2 separate regions of the Homo sapiens genome follow, and region 2 is linked to region 1. The links are contacts of gene promoters, found by promoter capture Hi-C in blood cells and fetal thymus (Javierre and others, 2016). All regions are on one chromosome and are shown on one strand. Each heading gives the region's core, a stretch centred on a gene start or on the middle of the fragment in contact. The rest is flanking DNA. Distances are from core to core; before and after follow the strand shown. Region 1 holds the start of CXCL8 (C-X-C motif chemokine ligand 8). Region 2 has its middle 170 kb from the start of BTC.

The links. Contacts are between HindIII fragments. The CHiCAGO score rates a contact against its expected background, and 5 or more counts as called.
Region 2: a fragment that was not itself captured here is called in contact with the fragment with the promoter of CXCL8 in region 1 in 1 of 17 cell types (monocytes); the score reaches 6.7 in monocytes.

What each region holds. Positions count from the first base shown.
Region 1 is chr4:73,738,826-73,743,600 of GRCh38, forward strand. It overlaps CXCL8 (C-X-C motif chemokine ligand 8), which reads left to right and starts at 1,744. Exons shown (of 4, transcript NM_000584.4): 1 at 1,744-1,897; 2 at 2,717-2,852; 3 at 3,124-3,207; 4 at 3,624-4,775. The coding sequence starts at 1,834. The coding sequence ends at 3,639. RefSeq lists a silencer at 207-501. The HindIII fragment of the contact is 2,023 bases long and covers 1-1,772 here.
Region 2 is chr4:74,619,235-74,624,029 of GRCh38, forward strand. No RefSeq gene overlaps it. Among named protein-coding and RNA genes, the nearest start is that of BTC, 170 kb to the right of the region's middle. RefSeq lists a silencer at 3,881-4,175. The HindIII fragment of the contact is 1,252 bases long and covers 1,128-2,379 here.

The DNA of each region.
Region 1 (4,775 bases), core at 494-2,993:
TTACCTGTTATTGTAACACTCATCACTGTATTTTACTTACTTGTGTAACTAATTTTCCATATTCTGCACTAGACAACAAAGTCCTTTAAGTCAGGTACTATATCTATTTACATAGCATTCACATCTCCTACAATAAGGGACATTAGCAGATAAACAACACATATTAAATGAATAATGAAGTTTCTGAAATACTACAGTTGAAAACTATAGGAGCTACATTATATAGAATAAACATTTACTTTGCTATAGAATTCAGTGTAACCCAGGCATTATTTTATCCTCAAGTCTTAGGTTGGTTGGAGAAAGATAACAAAAAGAAACATGATTGTGCAGAAACAGACAAACCTTTTTGGAAAGCATTTGAAAATGGCATTCCCCCTCCACAGTGTGTTCACAGTGTGGGCAAATTCACTGCTCTGTCGTACTTTCTGAAAATGAAGAACTGTTACACCAAGGTGAATTATTTATAAATTATGTACTTGCCCAGAAGCGAACAGACTTTTACTATCATAAGAACCCTTCCTTGGTGCTCTTTATCTACAGAATCCAAGACCTTTCAAGAAAGGTCTTGGATTCTTTTCTTCAGGACACTAGGACATAAAGCCACCTTTTTATGATTTGTTGAAATTTCTCACTCCATCCCTTTTGCTAGTGATCATGGGTCCTCAGAGGTCAGACTTGGTGTCCTTGGATAAAGAGCATGAAGCAACAGTGGCTGAACCAGAGTTGGAACCCAGATGCTCTTTCCACTAAGCATACAACTTTCCATTAGATAACACCTCCCTCCCACCCCAACCAAGCAGCTCCAGTGCACCACTTTCTGGAGCATAAACATACCTTAACTTTACAACTTGAGTGGCCTTGAATACTGTTCCTATCTGGAATGTGCTGTTCTCTTTCATCTTCCTCTATTGAAGCCCTCCTATTCCTCAATGCCTTGCTCCAACTGCCTTTGGAAGATTCTGCTCTTATGCCTCCACTGGAATTAATGTCTTAGTACCACTTGTCTATTCTGCTATATAGTCAGTCCTTACATTGCTTTCTTCTTCTGATAGACCAAACTCTTTAAGGACAAGTACCTAGTCTTATCTATTTCTAGATCCCCCACATTACTCAGAAAGTTACTCCATAAATGTTTGTGGAACTGATTTCTATGTGAAGCACATGTGCCCCTTCACTCTGTTAACATGCATTAGAAAACTAAATCTTTTGAAAAGTTGTAGTATGCCCCCTAAGAGCAGTAACAGTTCCTAGAAACTCTCTAAAATGCTTAGAAAAAGATTTATTTTAAATTACCTCCCCAATAAAATGATTGGCTGGCTTATCTTCACCATCATGATAGCATCTGTAATTAACTGAAAAAAAATAATTATGCCATTAAAAGAAAATCATCCATGATCTTGTTCTAACACCTGCCACTCTAGTACTATATCTGTCACATGGTACTATGATAAAGTTATCTAGAAATAAAAAAGCATACAATTGATAATTCACCAAATTGTGGAGCTTCAGTATTTTAAATGTATATTAAAATTAAATTATTTTAAAGATCAAAGAAAACTTTCGTCATACTCCGTATTTGATAAGGAACAAATAGGAAGTGTGATGACTCAGGTTTGCCCTGAGGGGATGGGCCATCAGTTGCAAATCGTGGAATTTCCTCTGACATAATGAAAAGATGAGGGTGCATAAGTTCTCTAGTAGGGTGATGATATAAAAAGCCACCGGAGCACTCCATAAGGCACAAACTTTCAGAGACAGCAGAGCACACAAGCTTCTAGGACAAGAGCCAGGAAGAAACCACCGGAAGGAACCATCTCACTGTGTGTAAACATGACTTCCAAGCTGGCCGTGGCTCTCTTGGCAGCCTTCCTGATTTCTGCAGCTCTGTGTGAAGGTAAGCACATCTTTCTGACCTACAGCGTTTTCCTATGTCTAAATGTGATCCTTAGATAGCAAAGCTATTCTTGATGCTTTGGTAACAAACATCCTTTTTATTCAGAAACAGAATATAATCTTAGCAGTCAATTAATGTTAAATTGAAGATTTAGAAAAAACTATATATAACACTTAGGAAAGTATAAAGTTTGATCAATATAGATATTCTGCTTTTATAATTTATACCATGTAGCATGCATATATTTAACGTAAATAAGTAATTTATAGTATGTCCTATTGAGAACCACGGTTACCTATATTATGTATTAATATTGAGTTGAGCAAGGTAACTCAGACAATTCCACTCCTTGTAGTATTTCATTGACAAGCCTCAGATTTGTCATTAATTCCTGTCTGGTTTAAAGATACCCTGATTATAGACCAGGCATGTATAACTTATTTATATATTTCTGTTAATTCTTTCTGAAGGCAATTTCTATGCTGGAGAGTCTTAGCTTGCCTACTATAAATAACACTGTGGTATCACAGAGGATTATGCAATATTGACCAGATAAAAATACCATGAAGATGTTGATATTGTACAAAAAGAACTCTAACTCTTTATATAGGAAGTCGTTCAATGTTGTCAGTTATGACTGTTTTTTAAAACAAAGAACTAACTGAGGTCAAGGGCTAGGAGAATATTCAGGAATGAGTTCACTAGAAACATGATGCCTTCCATAGTCTCCAAATAATCATATTGGAATTAGAAAGGAAGTAGCTGGCAGAGCTGTGCCTGTTGATAAAATCAATCCTTAATCACTTTTTCCCCCAACAGGTGCAGTTTTGCCAAGGAGTGCTAAAGAACTTAGATGTCAGTGCATAAAGACATACTCCAAACCTTTCCACCCCAAATTTATCAAAGAACTGAGAGTGATTGAGAGTGGACCACACTGCGCCAACACAGAAATTATGTAAGTACTTTAAAAAAGATTAGATATTTTGTTTTAGCAAACTTAAAATTAAGGAAGGTGGAAATATTTAGGAAAGTTCCAGGTGTTAGGATTACAGTAGTAAATGAAACAAAACAAAATAAAAATATTTGTCTACATGACATTTAAATATGGTAGCTTCCACAACTACTATAAATGTTATTTTGGACTTAGACTTTATGCCTGACTTAAGGAATCATGATTTGAATGCAAAAACTAAATATTAATCTGAACCATTTCTTTCTTATTTCAGTGTAAAGCTTTCTGATGGAAGAGAGCTCTGTCTGGACCCCAAGGAAAACTGGGTGCAGAGGGTTGTGGAGAAGTTTTTGAAGAGGTAAGTTATATATTTTTTAATTTAAATTTTTCATTTATCCTGAGACATATAATCCAAAGTCAGCCTATAAATTTCTTTCTGTTGCTAAAAATCGTCATTAGGTATCTGCCTTTTTGGTTAAAAAAAAAAGGAATAGCATCAATAGTGAGTTTGTTGTACTCATGACCAGAAAGACCATACATAGTTTGCCCAGGAAATTCTGGGTTTAAGCTTGTGTCCTATACTCTTAGTAAAGTTCTTTGTCACTCCCAGTAGTGTCCTATTTTAGATGATAATTTCTTTGATCTCCCTATTTATAGTTGAGAATATAGAGCATTTCTAACACATGAATGTCAAAGACTATATTGACTTTTCAAGAACCCTACTTTCCTTCTTATTAAACATAGCTCATCTTTATATTTTTAATTTTATTTTAGGGCTGAGAATTCATAAAAAAATTCATTCTCTGTGGTATCCAAGAATCAGTGAAGATGCCAGTGAAACTTCAAGCAAATCTACTTCAACACTTCATGTATTGTGTGGGTCTGTTGTAGGGTTGCCAGATGCAATACAAGATTCCTGGTTAAATTTGAATTTCAGTAAACAATGAATAGTTTTTCATTGTACCATGAAATATCCAGAACATACTTATATGTAAAGTATTATTTATTTGAATCTACAAAAAACAACAAATAATTTTTAAATATAAGGATTTTCCTAGATATTGCACGGGAGAATATACAAATAGCAAAATTGAGGCCAAGGGCCAAGAGAATATCCGAACTTTAATTTCAGGAATTGAATGGGTTTGCTAGAATGTGATATTTGAAGCATCACATAAAAATGATGGGACAATAAATTTTGCCATAAAGTCAAATTTAGCTGGAAATCCTGGATTTTTTTCTGTTAAATCTGGCAACCCTAGTCTGCTAGCCAGGATCCACAAGTCCTTGTTCCACTGTGCCTTGGTTTCTCCTTTATTTCTAAGTGGAAAAAGTATTAGCCACCATCTTACCTCACAGTGATGTTGTGAGGACATGTGGAAGCACTTTAAGTTTTTTCATCATAACATAAATTATTTTCAAGTGTAACTTATTAACCTATTTATTATTTATGTATTTATTTAAGCATCAAATATTTGTGCAAGAATTTGGAAAAATAGAAGATGAATCATTGATTGAATAGTTATAAAGATGTTATAGTAAATTTATTTTATTTTAGATATTAAATGATGTTTTATTAGATAAATTTCAATCAGGGTTTTTAGATTAAACAAACAAACAATTGGGTACCCAGTTAAATTTTCATTTCAGATAAACAACAAATAATTTTTTAGTATAAGTACATTATTGTTTATCTGAAATTTTAATTGAACTAACAATCCTAGTTTGATACTCCCAGTCTTGTCATTGCCAGCTGTGTTGGTAGTGCTGTGTTGAATTACGGAATAATGAGTTAGAACTATTAAAACAGCCAAAACTCCACAGTCAATATTAGTAATTTCTTGCTGGTTGAAACTTGTTTATTATGTACAAATAGATTCTTATAATATTATTTAAATGACTGCATTTTTAAATACAAGGCTTTAT
Region 2 (4,795 bases), core at 504-3,003, 880 kb after region 1:
TGGCATGGGCTTCAGCATCTAGAAAAATTCCTAGCACATAATTTTCAATTTAAAAATATCCTTGAATTTGTAAGTGAATAAATCAATAAATGGGTAGCCCAATAATCCTTTCTGGGCCACAAATTCTTCATTTTTTCTAGGTATCTTGTATTTATGCATAATATTAAAACTTTCCTTCTAGATAACCTTAATGCACTCGTTTAAAGAATAATTTCCTTATTACAGTTGCAATTATCTGAAAAAAGCCTATGTACAAGTGAGTAAATAGGCAGCTGCCTTATCATAGTAATAGATTGTGAACTTCATACATTCTGCCATTAACCAATATCCTTTCAGTCTCAATAATTTGTTGATGATCTTAAGTGTGCCTTATTTTGAGTGAAATTTAATAGATATTAAATTGACTAAAATTCTAGAAGACTCTACTTAAGTGATGTGTTAACAACCATTGTTCAATAAAAGCAAGGGTCTCTACTTATGTGTGGTGAAAGGAACCTGAATTTGGGGGCAAGATGGATTTGATTAGAATCCTGGTCTGCCCAACCCAAGACAAGGGGCGTGACCTTGGGCTCCCTGCTGAGCATGTGTCTCATCTGTAAAATGAGGGTGATACACTACCTACCTATTACATTTATTGAAAGAACTGCATAAAATAATGTACGTAACATGCCTGATATACAACTGATTTTCAAAAATTGTCTTTCATTTTACTTATCTCCACTCCATTTTATTGTTTCTCTTATTTGTTTGTTTCATTTCTGCTCTTGGGCATTTAAGCTCTTTTTGTCATTAGCATTAAAGACTAAATCTACAAACTTTATCAAGCTAAGAAAAATCGTCCTCAGAGAGATTAAATGAAGCCTGAATTGCAAAGTCATTACTAATGATTTCAGCAGATTCCTGCAGGAGCCTAACTTTCAGTAGTCTTAGGGGTGCCAAAAAAAATATGCTTGCAAGTCATTTGTTTTGACCAGATAACCTACTGATGCTCCTAAAAGTTCATCAGCTTTTTTTTTAAGAAACATAAAAAGAAGCATTATTATTTTGTAGCCAGCCTCTTTAAGGGAAAAACAGATTAAGTAGTGTATCAAGCTTTCTCTAAGAACTGGCTTTGCCCCAGTGTATCAAGCTTTCTCTAAGAACTGGCTTTGCCCCAAGGGGAAGGGTTTCTAGGTAGCTAGACTCTAAATATTTGCTGAATAAATGAAAGAATAAATACATGTTTGAATTATTTAATTAATATAGTTGCTGAGGCCAATGAGCGTCTCTGTGGTTTTGGTCTTTCAACAGCCACTTAGCAGAAAAAGGAGAGATATAGAGACAGCCTGTTGAGCTGTGCAGGGTGTGACTGGTCTTCTAAACTTGGCACTCAAACTGGAAGGCTATATCACTGTTTTGCTACCTGTTGCCATAGTAATCATGGGTATGGCCATGATACCTGAAGACTAATGTCAAAATTTCCCCCCAGTTTTCTGATTGAATTTTTTACCCTTAATCTCAAAAATGTTACTCTCCTCTTTTATTCTTATCATGCTGACATATATTTGCTTTTATATTTTTCTCGAAAGCTGGTCTGCAGTAGCTAATGAGATAGTAGCATACATGAAAAGGAGGAATCCTAGAAGTAATTTCCTTTATGAAAATTATGTGTTTCATCTCTCTTTCTTTGTGCTTAACACAATACTTCTTGGTTTAAGAATATCTCTTTCAAATGTTAGGCCAAGTTTCATGAGGATTCTTTCATTGAACTCTATTTAGTGTTGACTTAAGATAAGGAATTGAAACTTCATTCCTTAAGACTTGATGTCTTCCTCCTAAGTACATTTCAATTCACGTGACTTCAGAGACTGCCCTTAATAGGACTAACATGAAAGTAAATTCATGAATTCTGTAATATTATTTACGGTAATTCAAATTCCCTTATACTGTACTTCTTCTAAATGATGCAGTTACCAAAGACCCAATAGGACTTGCAGGCCTACTATCAAGACATTTTCAACAGTGACTCCAAGAAAAGAACAATCATGATAATCTGACATTTTTTTTTCTCAGTTCATGGCATTTATTTTCAATCTTTATCACACATGCCTGTTTCCTCATTTACAAATTATTAGAAACAATAGTACCCATTATGAATTATTACTACGAAGCAAACAAGCTAATATATGCAAGATGATTAGAAATGTTAGTCATTACTATTCTGTTTATCTTTATTCAGCCAGATGATGTTTTCTATTTTTAATATATTTTCCTATTTCATGGAGAAAAAAGTTCACTGTTGTTTCTGTCCCAAAACCCTCAATCCCAAATCATGACTGCATTACCTTCTCTAAACTTTATTGGTAGAAGTTAGCTGCTTGTCAAAGTTTCAAACAAACAAGCTTAGGAAGGAAGAGAAAAATATAAGTGGAAGAATTAAAGTAACATAACAAGGACCTGCATTTATTAATATTGTATTATAAGCTCACAGTATACAGGGATTGTGTCATCCATATATTTATTATTCACAGCATGTACAGCATTGTCTTGTGTATGATTAGTGTGTAAAAAATCTGAGTGAAAACAGGATGACTGAATAAAGGAGATAATAAATGAATGACAGTTGCCAAATGCCCTTAAAGCCTTGTAAAATGTTTGTTCAAAGAAGAGTTAGAAATATAGTAAACAAGACTTGGCAATTATCCATAAATTGAATTTGTTCAGGTTTTCCTTTCTTCCAGAAGTTATCATACTAATCAGAAACTGTTACATTCATATATCAGAGTCATCAAAATAAAGTCATCGAAGAAAGGAAGATAGAATAGATAGAGAAACTTTTCTGGTAAATTCTATGACAAATTATGATTGGAGTCTTATAAGTAGTCTTATATTTTTAAAATTCTAAACTTCAGAACTTTTGAAATATAACAATCATTTTATTGAAAAATAAAAGAAAGGCTAACAGTGTGCTTTAGATAAAGTTTTTCACATAATCATGCTTATCCACTGACAGTTTCATCTTCATACTTGTGCAATATAGAAGGAAACAGAGATACTTGGAAGTGCTCAGCCCGGGGAATAAGCTACAGGATGAAATGGCCCACGCTAGGAACCATCTACTTTACCCAGTGATACACAATGGAAAATAAACCTGTCTTAAAAAAAAAAAATGGGAACATAACAGGTGTTTGGTTGATTCTAGAATAAAATGCAAATTTTGAACAACTAAGATTAAACTTTAGAAATTCAAGGTCTTTCCTACTTTCAATTTCTACCTAGGTTCCCAAAACTTCTCTCCTACAGAACCCCCAACCCCCAGCTCCCTACACAGACATTTGCACTTCTCTCTAAACACTGCTCAAAAGCAGCATTTCTCAAACTTTCTCTGATCAGGATTCACTGAGCCGAAAGGAAAACAAAAGAAAATATGGTCTACTTCACTGATTCTAGCATTGAAGAAAGCTTTGTGATGGGAACAATTAGGGAGGAATAATTATAATAGCAGCATTTCAGCAATTACGCAGGAACAAAGCCATCAGGAAAAGTGTAACCTAGGAATAATTCTATACATAAATTAAATAATGCAAAAATAGGAGCAACTGAAAACCATAGCTAGCTTAAAACAATCCTAAAATTATAACAAGGTTAGAGAATCTTCTCTGAAAATTCGGGCAATCCCAACAATCTAAGTGTGCGTTAAAAGTTCTTGCTAAGCATTGCTTGACAGTGGGATTTCTTAGCAGAATATTAAATTAGGACCCTCAAATTTTAGAAGGGTAATATTTTAATTTGTGAATATCAAATTTTTAAATTATTAATAATGCACTTGGAAGATTACTCACAGCTAGGTAATATTTATTTGAATATAAATATAAGCATATATTGAATTCCCAAACTTTTTCCACTCCTAAAAAACTGAGAAACAGACTTTCTGAACTGCTCTTGGGCTTCAGACTATGCTGAGATGAAAACACAGCTGTAGTTCAGGGGCTTCGTCACAGATAATATGCATTTTGGTGTCACCTACTGGCATGATGTGACATGACATGACAGAAGTTTATGAGCCAAAGCATTTAAAATAGTAATGGTGCATTGTTCTGTGTCAAACACTGCGTCAGGCACAAAAGGTACAGTAGTAAGCAAAATAAACTACTACTTCCACTATCAGGGGAGGCAAATATTAATAAAATAATCACAAAAGTAGAGGCAAGATGGAACGGTCCTAATCTTGGGGATCAGAGAGTGCTGAGGCTGAAGGCAGGGTCTAAGTTCTCTAGGCAAACAGAGGAAATAGGGAGATGAAGGGGAGAAGACTGCGTAGGGGACTGGACAGGAGGGAGCCTGGCATGTTTGAAGAAGTGAGGGAAGCCATGGTGGCTGGAACCCAGAAAACTGAAGGGAAAGGAGGGTAGGAGTGGTGAAACATGAAGCTGAAGAGATAATAATAGTAGTTGTAGTAATAAGATGCTCTTTCATGGATAATTCTCTATCATGGCTTCACAGAGAGCTCCAACCTGTTAATGTTCAATTTAATTGTATTGAACAGCTACAAAGGACCACATTCTATAGCTGCAATGTTCTCATCTTCAAGGTCATTGGAAAATGTTGTTATCAAAATTAAGGGTGTAGCTCAATAAACTGACAAACTCAAGATTCAAAATTGTTTTTAACAACCAGGAGTTGGGGGTTAAAACAAACAAGTTGAAAGTTAAAAAAAAATAAAGTCCTTCATGTAAGGTGAAAACAAAAATATGCAAAATATGGTAGCAACCTGGCTTATAAAAAAGATATGGAAATTTTAGTTGGCCTCAGGTTC